Linked DNA regions of Homo sapiens: region 2 is linked to region 1. Evidence: promoter capture Hi-C in 16 types of primary human blood cells and fetal thymus (Javierre and others, 2016). All regions are on one chromosome and are shown on one strand. Each heading gives the region's core, a stretch centred on a gene start or on the middle of the fragment in contact. The rest is flanking DNA. Distances are from core to core; before and after follow the strand shown.

Region 1 (5,427 bases), core at 138-2,637:
TGATATCTTTGAGCTGACTTCTGTACTCAGGGTTCTTCCAAACAGGAATATGCTTTCTCTGCCTAAGATCTGGGTTCCATGCCCATCTCAACCTCAATCCCTCCTTCAAGGAAGTTTTTCCTAACTCCTCGGCCAGACATCAATAATGTCTGAAGGGAGGATTTCTCCCGAGTGCCAGACTTGGAATTCCTGTTGTCTTCAGGAGCTCTCCCTGGCGCTCCCTCCTTCCCCCAGGGCCTTTAAACTGTTTCTCCTCCAGTCTGCCCACTTGATCCATGTGGGTAGACATGTTCCATGGCCTTCAGAATAAGATCTTTTGTGGGGTACTCAGTCCATAAACAGAAAATTGCCTTCATCTTGGATGCTGGTGTTTCTGGCCTGGTGAGAATGAAAGTGTGGAATTTGTTTGTAGGACTCAAAGTTTCCATTAACAATAAATATGAAAAATATATAATGCAAAGGCTTTTGTTATTGTTATTATTAAAATAGGAAAGCCTTTACCTTTTTGGAAGAACCGATTTAGATTTTGCAGAGTAATTCAGTCTTTAAAAGGTAGTGGTAGTTAAAATAGGTAATCTTTGACTTGTAAAGAGACTAATTTAAATTTTGTTAAGTAACCAATTAAGGCCATAAAGAGTTTAAATCCATCTGTGGCTTCTCATTTTCTCTAGAACAAATTCCTAATTCCCTACGATGAAATTCTCTTGCTATCCTAATTTTTTGCCGGCTCAAAGGACTAACCGTTTTCCCCAAACACGCGGCCCTGAGCCTCCGGTGCTTTGCGAAAGCCGTCCCCTCCGGCTGGAATGTTCTTTGTCTCTCTGGTAAATGTCTATTCATCATTCAAGACCACCCTTCGCCCCTCCCCTTAATTACTTCCTCCCCTGTGCGCCCTCAAATTCTTGTACTCATTCAAGCAGTATTTATTAGGGGCCAGCTTTGTGGCCGGCACCGTGGCGGGCTCTGGGGCTACAAAAGGTGAATAATACTTGGGCTCTGCCTCTGAGGGCCTTACACGTTAGGGAGGAGTGGGTCAACTGCCACAAACGTCGCTAGGAAATTAAAAGGAAAATTTTACAAAGTGGCAGTTCTTGTCTGTCTTCCCCTCCAGATGGCCCGTGTGTTGTTTTCGGGCCGGGGCTATTTCTCATTTATTTCGCACCCCCGGTTCTTAGTGCCCTGTAGGTGCTAAATCAGCATTTGTTTCATGAGTGCTTTTTCTGGGGGCAACCAGACCCCTGCAGAAGTGTACCTGTGTTGTGCCAGAGGTTCTGATGATAGGCTTATAGGCGGTAGTTTCCTCAGTGTCCGTGGGTCGCCCCCGGTCCCGGGTTGGATGCCCCGCGGTCCAGCACCGAACCTTTCGGGGTGCAGAGTTGCAGAGCCGCGGAGGGCCCGGGCCGTGCGCAGCCGAAGGGAGGCCTGCAGCGCCCCCTCTGGATGCAGCGGGCACCGGCCGGCCGCCCCGCTCACCCGCTCGCACCCCACGTTTGTTCACCAGTATTTCAGTTTACGGTCAGAAAATGAACACAGACACTTCGTGATACTCTACACTTTTCAAAGGCGTAAGGGATGCCTTTTAAAGGATTATGGATTAGAAAAATTCCTCCCTCTTTCTTGTGCCTCTGGGCCCTTGCATTGTGATTCTATCTTACGTAAATAAAGGGGGCTTTGCTCTCCTAATTGTGCCCACTGTTCTGTGCAGCGCGGACCGGCGCATGCAGCGAGCGGGGCTGCGAGGGCGCTGCTGTGGCCAGGCGTCTGGCATGCTGACCACGTCGCGCTGCTGTAAAGGAAACCTGCCCCGCGCAGCGGCGGTGGCTGGAGCGGGAGAAACCGGACTTTGTGCAACTTTGGCCATAGTGGCCATCCCATGAATCTGTTTACTAGCTTGGTGGTGGGTCCAACAGAGCTTGTTGCTCCCTAGCCGCTTGCTCGTGCCCTTGGTGGTTACCGGTAGTTAAGCTTAGGGCGCATAGGGCCCTCGTGGCTCGCCACCTCTCACGGTTCAGTACCCACGCTTCGAACGAGGGATGGGAGCAGGCGCCACGGCCGGCACCCCAGAGCCCTGCTGCCCCTTAGTTCGAGCGGCCATCCTCCTGTGGGGCTTGTGGGCAGCCTGTGGGGTTTGTGGGCGGCCTGTGGGGTTTGTGGGTGGTCTAAGGAAAGAGTTGGGGCACTCAGGGGTCTGCTGTTTTTGCCCGTGGCCTTAACTCATCAGGGGAGGGTTTCTGCAGCAGAATCTCGGGCTCAGGGTTGGCGGTTAACGAGGGAGCAGCGGGGTCTTGGGGAGGGGGCTCGACACCCCTGAAGGTGCCCCCTAAAGGAGCCACTGTTAGAGGGGCACCCCATCTTTGTGGCCATGGCGGTGGTAGAGCGGCTGGGAGGGGCTCTGCGGCGAGCAAGGGAGCAGGCGGTAGGGGTTCTGCGGCGATGGGCGGGCTAGGGGCGGGGCGCGGGTGGGCTCTAAAAGTCGGTGCCCACTCGCTCCGCGCTGCCGCGGCAACCAGCACACCCCGGCACCTCCTCTGCGGCAGCTGCGCCTCGCAAGCGCAGTGCCGCAGCGCACGCCGGAGTGGCTGTAGCTGCCCGGCGCGGCGCCGCCCTGCGCGGGCTGTGGGCTGCGGGCTGCGCCCCCGCTGCTGGCCAGCTCTGCACGGCTGCGGGCTCTGCGGCGCCCGGTGCTCTGCAACGCTGCGGCGGGCGGCATGGGATAACGCGGCCATGGTGCGCCGAGATCGCCTCCGCAGGTGAGTGTGCGGTGGGAACGAGGGGGTGTGGCTGGCGGCCCTGGGACTAGGGCGCAGGCGAGCGGAGGACTGTGTGCCCGTGTCCGAGCTGGGGCTGCCTCTGGGCGAAAACTCTACCGACAGGCGGCACGCATTCCGCGCCCGCTCTGCCTACTTGAGGAGGGGGTGTCACTCCTGCCCGCAATGGAATGTTCAGAACGCGGGACCTCCTTGGGTTAGGATTTCTAGACCCCGGGATCGTCGTGGTGAGATTTAGGATTTCTGGACCCCAGCGTCATCTTGATATGACTTAGGATCCATAATGACCCTGGTCTCACCCTGATGCGAATTGGGATTTTTAGATCCTGGCATCACCCTGGTGCGATTTAGGATTTTTATACTCAGTCATTGCTGCAGCATGATTTAGGATTTCTAACCCCCAGCATCGCCCTGGTTTGATTTAGGATATTTAGACTCCGGCTTCCCTCTGGTGCGATTCAGGATTCTTAGACTCCGCCGTTGCCGTGGCGCGATTTAGGATTTATAGATCCCGGCAAAGCCCTGGTGCGATGTAGGATTTTTAGAACCCCAGCATCGCTCTGGTGCGACTTAAAGGATAGGCCCCAGCATCGCCCTGGTGCGATGTAGGATTTTTAGAACCCCGGTGTCTCCGTGGCGCACCTTAGGATTTCAAGAACGGGATAATCGCAGTGCCGAGATCGCCGCGGTGCAGCTTAGGATTTCAAGACCCAGGTATCACGGTGGCGGGAGTCACCGCAGTGACTAGAACTCGCAGTGCCCGTCAGCCGCCTTAAGTATTTTTCAGATTTCAGTAACAAGCGCGAGTGAGAACGGCGATGTGACCAAACTGTCATGTTGCGCAGGGATTGTTCACCTTGGTTTCGCGGGTTTTCAAAGTGGTTCGTCTCGCGGCGACGCCATCAGGTGGGCGGCAGGTTGGGTGGTATTATTACGGGAGTGTGTTTTTCTGTTTACAAGATGAAGAAATCAAGGCTCAGAAATTTTTGGAAAGTTTGTTACTGGAGTTTGCTTATTGTCTCCGCTCATGGCTCATCAAATAGTTGGGATTTTGGCCAAAAAATGTTTGCTTAACCCATTTTGCCTACTGACGGCTAGGTTGCTTCACTTCTAAAAATCCTAAAAGTTCATGGGGGCATTTTTACTGAGGTAATAAGACAAAAAATGGCCCCCTGAGAGGTTGCCTCTTTGCTTTCTTGGAGTAAGAGGAGGAGGGTGTGGAGGGGGGTGTCCAGGAGTGGAGTATGTTGGTCGATAGCCTCGTTTTTTAACCCCCCACTTTCCCTGAGCAGCGGCGGGGAAGCCTCCCCATTTGCCGCTCTGGCCGCCCCTCCCGGGGCTCTCTGCTGAGTCACTGCAGAGATTCAGCTGCTGGAACCCCGGGGATGAATGCGATGAGAAGCACTGGGGGAAAGGAGTAATGAAATCTGCACATGAAAATGTATACATTGAAGTACAGGACAGATAGGGCTGGGCAAATGATCGTCAAAACCTAATGGTTTTTGTCATCTGACCTTTCAAGGAGATACTGGGATACAGCCTGCTATTGTTGGGTGAAAACTGTGATATAACCATCATGTTCTGGCACTTTTTTGAACCATTTCTAGTATTACCTTGAGAAGTAGGACCAAATGGTTCTATCCGTCTTATGGACAGGTACTTTGGAGAAAAAAAGAAATGACTGCCCTAATAATGCCTAAAAAATAGCCTGGGGAGCTGACATTGTTTAAGAAACATGGTTATTTTACCACTGTAAAACCACAGGCTTGTTTTTAGATTTTAGCAAAAAGTATCAGGGATATGGGGGGGAAAAGTATCTTGTAAGTTGAGGAAGTTAGCGAACGGGTAGGTAGATTACAGGCAATAGGGAAGAATGTGTGTACAGACGGAAAGCCATTTCCCCCAGGGCTTTAGCAATTAATTTATTTCAGCTCTATGACAACTCTAATTTTAGTTTTGGAGGGTATTATTTCCATTCTGGCTGTTTTGAGAGAACTTCCATTCTACTGACAATTCTTGATCTGTTGACCATCAGAAGTCATAGACTTGAAACAGAACGGTTTATAATTCCTGTTTGGCACTCCTTGTCAATGTGGATAAACTGACTTGTGCCTTTGAAGTCCTGGGCATGGGAGGGTTGGGTGTACCAACCAGTGCTCTTTTTCCAAAGACAAAATCAATTCTCACACGCTGGGTATGAGTTATGCCTTATCTGGGGGTGGGGGAGCATCTTAGGAAATTAAATGGAAACTTAAAGAGTCTGCTAAGAAAAGCAGAAATGTAATCTACCGCCTTGACCTCTCAAGAGATTAGATATTCAGGGTCATGACAAAGCTGCTTATGTTGGAATACACAGTGCAGCTATCTTACTTTCACAGACTGTTTACCCTGAGCAGTTTCTCAGCCCAAATCCAGAAAGGAGTACTAAATGGGGCTTCATTTAGGCAGGAGGGCTGAAAATCAGGAGTAGCTCTCTGCTTGAGGACATGTGATAAGTTACTACACACACACACTCTTTAAAACATGAGATATAGCACATATATATTTTTTGAACATTTTACTGGTTGGGGGTAGTGGGTAGATGGTAGAGCTTTTGGAGTAAATAAGAAAGAAGTTATTTTTTTCCTGGGAAGCCTTGATAAAAGTCAACGAAAGAGTG
Region 2 (5,866 bases), core at 1,972-4,471, 200 kb after region 1:
AAAGCAGGTAGGTCGAATGGAGTCACATTATAGGGGCCTTGACAATTAAGTAGAACTTTGAAAAGACCTACATCAGCCCAAATTCCTATGAAGCCCACAGGTTTAGTGGAAAGCCCATAGACAAGGGTTTATGTCTAACTTGATTGTCTAGACAAACCCTAAAGATGATTTCTAGAGTTTATGACAAGACTGAGCTAAACCCTTAAAGTTCCCTTCTAGGGAAATAGAGTAATAAGCGTTTCACCCTTTTCTCACCTTTAATTTTTCTGGAATTGTAAGTCCAATTCATGTATATGGTGAAACTAAAATAAAAATGAGCTGTCAAATTGGGCAGTATAAGTCTTGGGTTGCTAGTCTGCAGGCCAGGCTGAAAAACAAATCACACAAACACTAAAACTACATTCAAAATAAGAATGTAAAAACCTGGTGTACACTACCTTTAAGAACATCACGAAATCATAGTTTGGTGAAGAAGGCAAAGTCTTTGGCATGGGAACTTTCCATTTTGAAAATATCGTAATTATTCTTTTCTGGATTCTGGAGGAGACAGAGGGAATTTGTGATGAATAGGCAATCTAGAATGCTGAGGTGTTCTGTGTTGGAGACAGAGAATGAAAAGGCCAAAACTTAAAGGCATATTTAAACAAAATCTGCCAATCTCTTATTTTGCCAGCCTATGACTTCTCTACACACACACACACACACACACACACACACACACACACACACACACATCTTCACCATCTCTTAATCTACCTCTACCTAAGCCAATGTTTTCACTGCATTCTTCAAATACAGTGAGCATTTTTTCTTATTCCCCATACTTAAAATGCTGTCCCCAATCTCTTCAGCCATTTGAATCTTCTCCTTCTCCTTCTCCTTCTCTTTCTTCTGACGGAGCCTCACACTGTCACAAGGCTGGAGTGCAGTGGCACAGTCTCAGTTCACTGCAACCTCTGTCTCCCTGGTTCAAGTGATTTTCCTGCCTCAGCCTCCAGAGTAGCTGGGACTACAGGCGCCTGCCACCATGCCCAGCTAATTTTTGTATTTTTAGTAGAGACGGGGTTTCACCATGTTGGCCAGGATGGTCTCGATCTCTTGACCTTGTGATCCACCCACCTCAGCCTCCCAAAGTGCTGGGATTACAGGCGTGAGCCACCATGCCCAGCCCTGAATCTTCTTTCTTTATGTTACTACTCAGGTCATTCCTTTAAAGAGAAGATTTTCTAGATTAATGCAATCCCAAACTCTAGACTATAGTCACTGGGTTTTGTGCATGTCATTGTATAGTGTCTTGTAGTTCTGTTTTCACTTTTCTTATGTGCGGGTCTTGTCTGCCTCTTAAGCTGTGAGTCCCTTAAAAGTGGAAATGTAAATTTTAAACATATTTGTGCCCCCCTCCCAGTGCTTTGTATCTTATGCATTCAAAACTAGTGTTTGCTTATTTCAATATATTTGCTGAACATTTATGACATATTAGACACTCTCCTAGGTGATGAGAACAAAGCATAAATCAGATGTAATTCTTGAGCTCCTTTAGGAGCTCACAGTTTAGCCAGGAAGAGAGACAAAGAAACGGTTGATTGCAACAGAGTAGAATGCCAAATTAGATCTAAATTTAGGGTACTATGGAAGCAATGAGGAAGGGGACTTAACCCATACTGAGAAGAGACTGAGAGAGATTTGGAACTACTGCCTAAACTGAGCTGGGGAAGATGAGTGTGAATTAACCAGGTGATGAGAGGACAGACATTTGAGAAAGAGGGAGAAGCAGAGGCAAAAACATGAGAATACAACAAAGCCTGGCTTATTTAGGGGAATTGAAAATACTGTAATTGCAATATGCCAGGAACATAAGATTTAGGGGAAGGGTAGTGAGAGGTGAGACTAGAGAGGAAGACAGGATCCAAATCCTAAAATGAACTATTTGATAGGAAGTTTGTGGGTTATTCTGAGTAATGAAGCGCTAACAAGAGATTTTAAATGAGGTATAATCTCCTTATTGAACAATATATATTTTAGAAATACAAAAATAGTGGCATGTGAACTATAGATTGGAAAGACAGAAGAACTATAGATTAGAAAGATGCAAAGAGGTCCTTGAGAAGTCTATGACAGTGCTGAGGAGGGGTTGAGAAATTATAAGGGTCTATAGCCATCACCAATTAGTGCCATTCACTCCTGCATCCTAGCTCTGGATGATTGATTCAAAGGTGGCCAACCAGGTTATACTAAGAATTTGAAAGTTTGCTAATGACCCACAGAGCTGTAAGATGATTGCACCTGAGCCACCTCATGTGGTATCCCAGGCTGGAAGACTCTGAGCTCTGAGCTCTACCTGCTGAGGTCCCCGGAGCTGCCCCAGATCTAGTCCTTCCTAAAGCAAGACTACACAATTTTCTCTTCAGTTCTGTGAGCTTTCCTAATATTCTTTCAAATAAATCCTTTATTTTCTTAGGGTTCATTTCTGCAGTTTATGACCAAAAAAAAAAAAAAAAAAACCTAATATGGGCTCTGAAGCAGGGTGTCCAATCTTTTGGCTTCCCTGGGCCACGTTGGAAGAATTGTATTGGACCACACATAAAATACTCTAACGCTAACAATAGCTGATGAGCTAAAACAAATCACACAAAAAAAACTCATAATGTTTTAAGAAAGTTTTTGAATTTGTGTTGGGCTGCATTCAAAGCCATCCTGGGCCACGTGTGGCCCATGGGCCATGGGTTGGACAAGCTTGCTCTAAAGCAAGGTAGTGGCAGTGAAGAGGGTTAAAAAAGGATATATGAAAGATGTTAGGAGGGTAGAATTAATAGAACTTGGTAACTAGTTGAATACATGAGATAAGGAATATAATCACATTTTTAGCTTTGTTACCTGAGTTAATGGAGGTGCAAGTTACCAAATTAGAGAACAAAGGGAATGGAGCAAGTTTGGGGGATAAATGATGAATTTTGTTTCTGGTCAGTTGAGTATGAGGCAGAGGTGAGGATGTTGTCTAGTAAGTAGTTTAAAATATGGGACTGGAGCTCAGGAGAGACAGGTTTGGTACTATAGATTGAATGTTTATGTCCTCTGCCTCCCTAAATTCATATGTTGATACTGAGTCCCTAATTATGAGGGTATTAGGATGTGGAGCCTTTGTGGGGGCAATTAGTGCACTTATAGAAGTGGCTTCAAAAGCACATCTTTACTCCTTCTGCCATGTGAGGACACAACAAAAAGCCGGTCCTCACCAGATACTGAATGTGCCAGCACCTTGATTTTGGACTTCCCGGCCTCTGGAACTGTGAGAAATAAATTCCTGTTGTTTATAATCCACCCAGTTTATGGTATTTTGTTATAGCAGCCTGAACAGACTAAGCCATTTGGGTAGAATTATGCATTTGGAAGTCAGCCTCAAGCATTATGTGCTAATTGAAGCCATTGGACTAGATAAGATCAAGTAGGAAAAATGGTGGACTAACAAGAGACTAAAGCATAGAACCATGCCCCAGACTATGTAAACATCCAAAAAAGAGCATCATAAATGAATTTTGTAAAGAACATGGAAAAGGAGTGGCCAGAGATTGAAAGAGAACTAGGAGGAAGTGGCCACAGGTGGGATGATATCATTGGAAGGGATGCTATTATGAAAAAGGAAACAAATTTTTTAGCTTCAAGCAGCAAGTTTTGAAGGTATAGAAAAAGATTAAAACTTGCAAAAATGACCAAAAGCTTAATAAGCAATCCAATGCTGCCACTTATAAGGCAGATAAATCTAGACTGAAAAAAACCTACAAGGCTTGGGTTCATGGAAATGCCAGGATTTGCTTGAAGAAACAGAGACCATCTGGTAAAAGAGAATGTGAATCCCCATTGTTTGTCTTCTTTTTTCAGAGATACAGGGGCTGCATTGATCAAAACTCAGGGCGATCCTCCCTGCCTACTACTCCTTGGGTGTTGATCTATGACAGGGCCTAAGAACAGCTCCCCCTTATCCCTTCACCTACATAACTTTCCACATTCAGATGGAGACTTCACACCCCAGGTAACAGCTGGGCAGGGAGGACAGGGTGCTGGGGTGGCACAGTGCATTCTGAGAGATGTGACCTCAGGAGCAAAGAGCAGGAGGAAGGGCACAAGATGGGAGGAACTGTTTTTTTGAACAGTTTTGTCCTCTTTTCTCATTTCTAACTGTTTATAAAATAGAAACGGCTACCTTTATGGAAGTATTGGTATGGAAAGTAAGGAAGTGTGGAAAGAAGCATCTACCCTTCATGAAAAAAGGTAGTGGCACAGAATGCCAAGCAAGGGTAGTTTGCCCCATTTTTGTCTTCTTTCATTCTTTCTTTTTCTTTCTTTCTTTCTTCTTCTTTCTTTCTTTCTTTCTTTCTTTCTTTCTTTCTTTCTTTCCTTCTTTCTTTCTTTCTTTCTTTCTTTCTTTCTTTCCTTCTCTCTCTCTCTCTCTCTCTCTCTCTCTCTCTCTCTCTCTCTCTTTCTTTCTGTCTTTCTTTCTTGCATTTTCAGACAGGGTCTCATTCTGTTACCCAGGCTGAAGTGCAGTGGCATCATCATAGGTCACTGCAGCTTCAAACTCCTGGGCTCAGGCACCCACCCACCTCAGCCTCCTGAGTAGCTGGGACTACAGGCATGCACCACCATGCCCAGCTTTTTTTTTTTTTTTTTTAAAGAGACATGGTCTCACTGTGTTGCCCAGGCTGGTCTTGAAATCCTGGCCTCAAACAATCTTCCTCTCTCAGCCTCCCAAAGTGCTGGGATTACAGGCATGAGCTACTATACCTAGCCACTCTTCCTTCCTTCTTTCCTTTCTCTCCTTCCTTCCTTCCTTCTTTCCTTCCTTCTTTCTTTCCTTTTTTTTTTTTTTTTTTTTTTTTGATGGAGTCTTGCTGTGTCACCCAGGCTGGAGTGCAGTGGCATGATCTCGGCTCACTGCAAGCTCCACCTCCTGGGTTCACACCATTCTCCTGTCTCAGCCTCCCAAGTAGCTGGGACTACAGGCACCCACTACCACGCCTGGCTAATTTTTTGTATTTTTTTAGTAGAGGTAGGGTTTCACCGTGTTAGCCAGGATGGTCTCGATCTCCTGACCTCGTGATCTGCCCTCGGCCTCCCAAAGTCCTGGTATTATAGGCGTGAGCCACTGTGCCCGGCCCACTCTTTCTTTCTTAAACAGCCTGCTGGTGACACATGAAGCTCTTGCTTTCTTGAGGAGAGGCCTATCATTTATCAGTGGCTGGGTAAATCTTTCCAGTTCAGGGGGATGTTTTAGGAAGCCCAATGTATGTTCAGGCCCCAGCCAGTCTCCAAACCAACTTCTAGCAGAAAGCTGATATTCTGAACTTACCAGATTTTTGCATGTGTTTACTAACTGCTTCAGAACCGGTAAGGGAAAGAGATGTAATTGGCACCTCAAATATTACTTTTGCACCAACCTAAATCAACATCCTGACTACAGTGAATGCTACAACTGTTATTTTACATAGTCTACATAGACTCAGATACCAGAGAATATGTAAGTAGGAATTTGAGAAAGTTATCTCCCCAGCAAAGCAAAAAATGAAAGCCAGATAGAAACTGGGGACTGGGCAGGGAGGTTTGCCTAGCAACCTGCCCTCCATCTCTGGTAAGAAAGCAGGAGCAGAGTTTATAAATTCATTAATCTCATGTATTGACCAACACCAAGACTCAACAAAGCTAGCATTATTCAGAGATGAATGAATGGAAAATGATTTTTAGGGCTAATGCATTTTATGAGGAGTAGAATATAGCAGCAGCAATAGCTGCTCTGGCAAGAATAGGGAGCTAAGAAGCTGCCAGAAGTGGAGGAATACAGAGAAGAGCAGGAGGCTGGGAATCTGGGAATTAG

The links. The method cuts DNA at HindIII sites, captures the fragments that hold promoters and counts their contacts. A CHiCAGO score of 5 or more calls a contact.
Region 2: a fragment that was not itself captured here is called in contact with the fragment with the promoter of MESTIT1 in region 1 in 1 of 17 cell types (endothelial precursors); the score reaches 9.3 in endothelial precursors.

Annotation. Positions count from the first base shown.
Region 1 is chr7:130,489,590-130,495,016 of GRCh38, forward strand. MESTIT1 (MEST intronic transcript 1, antisense RNA) reads right to left here and starts at 1,388. Exons shown (of 2, transcript NR_004382.2): 1 at 1,253-1,388; 2 at 1-378. It overlaps MEST (mesoderm specific transcript), which reads left to right and starts at 2,496. Exons shown (of 12, transcript NM_002402.4): 1 at 2,496-2,750. The coding sequence starts at 2,725. RefSeq lists a silencer at 1,324-1,533. The HindIII fragment of the contact is 7,997 bases long and covers 1-1,963 here.
Region 2 is chr7:130,686,007-130,691,872 of GRCh38, forward strand. It overlaps TSGA13 (testis specific 13), which reads right to left and starts at 539. Exons shown (of 8, transcript NM_052933.4): 1 at 256-539. The HindIII fragment of the contact is 981 bases long and covers 2,732-3,712 here.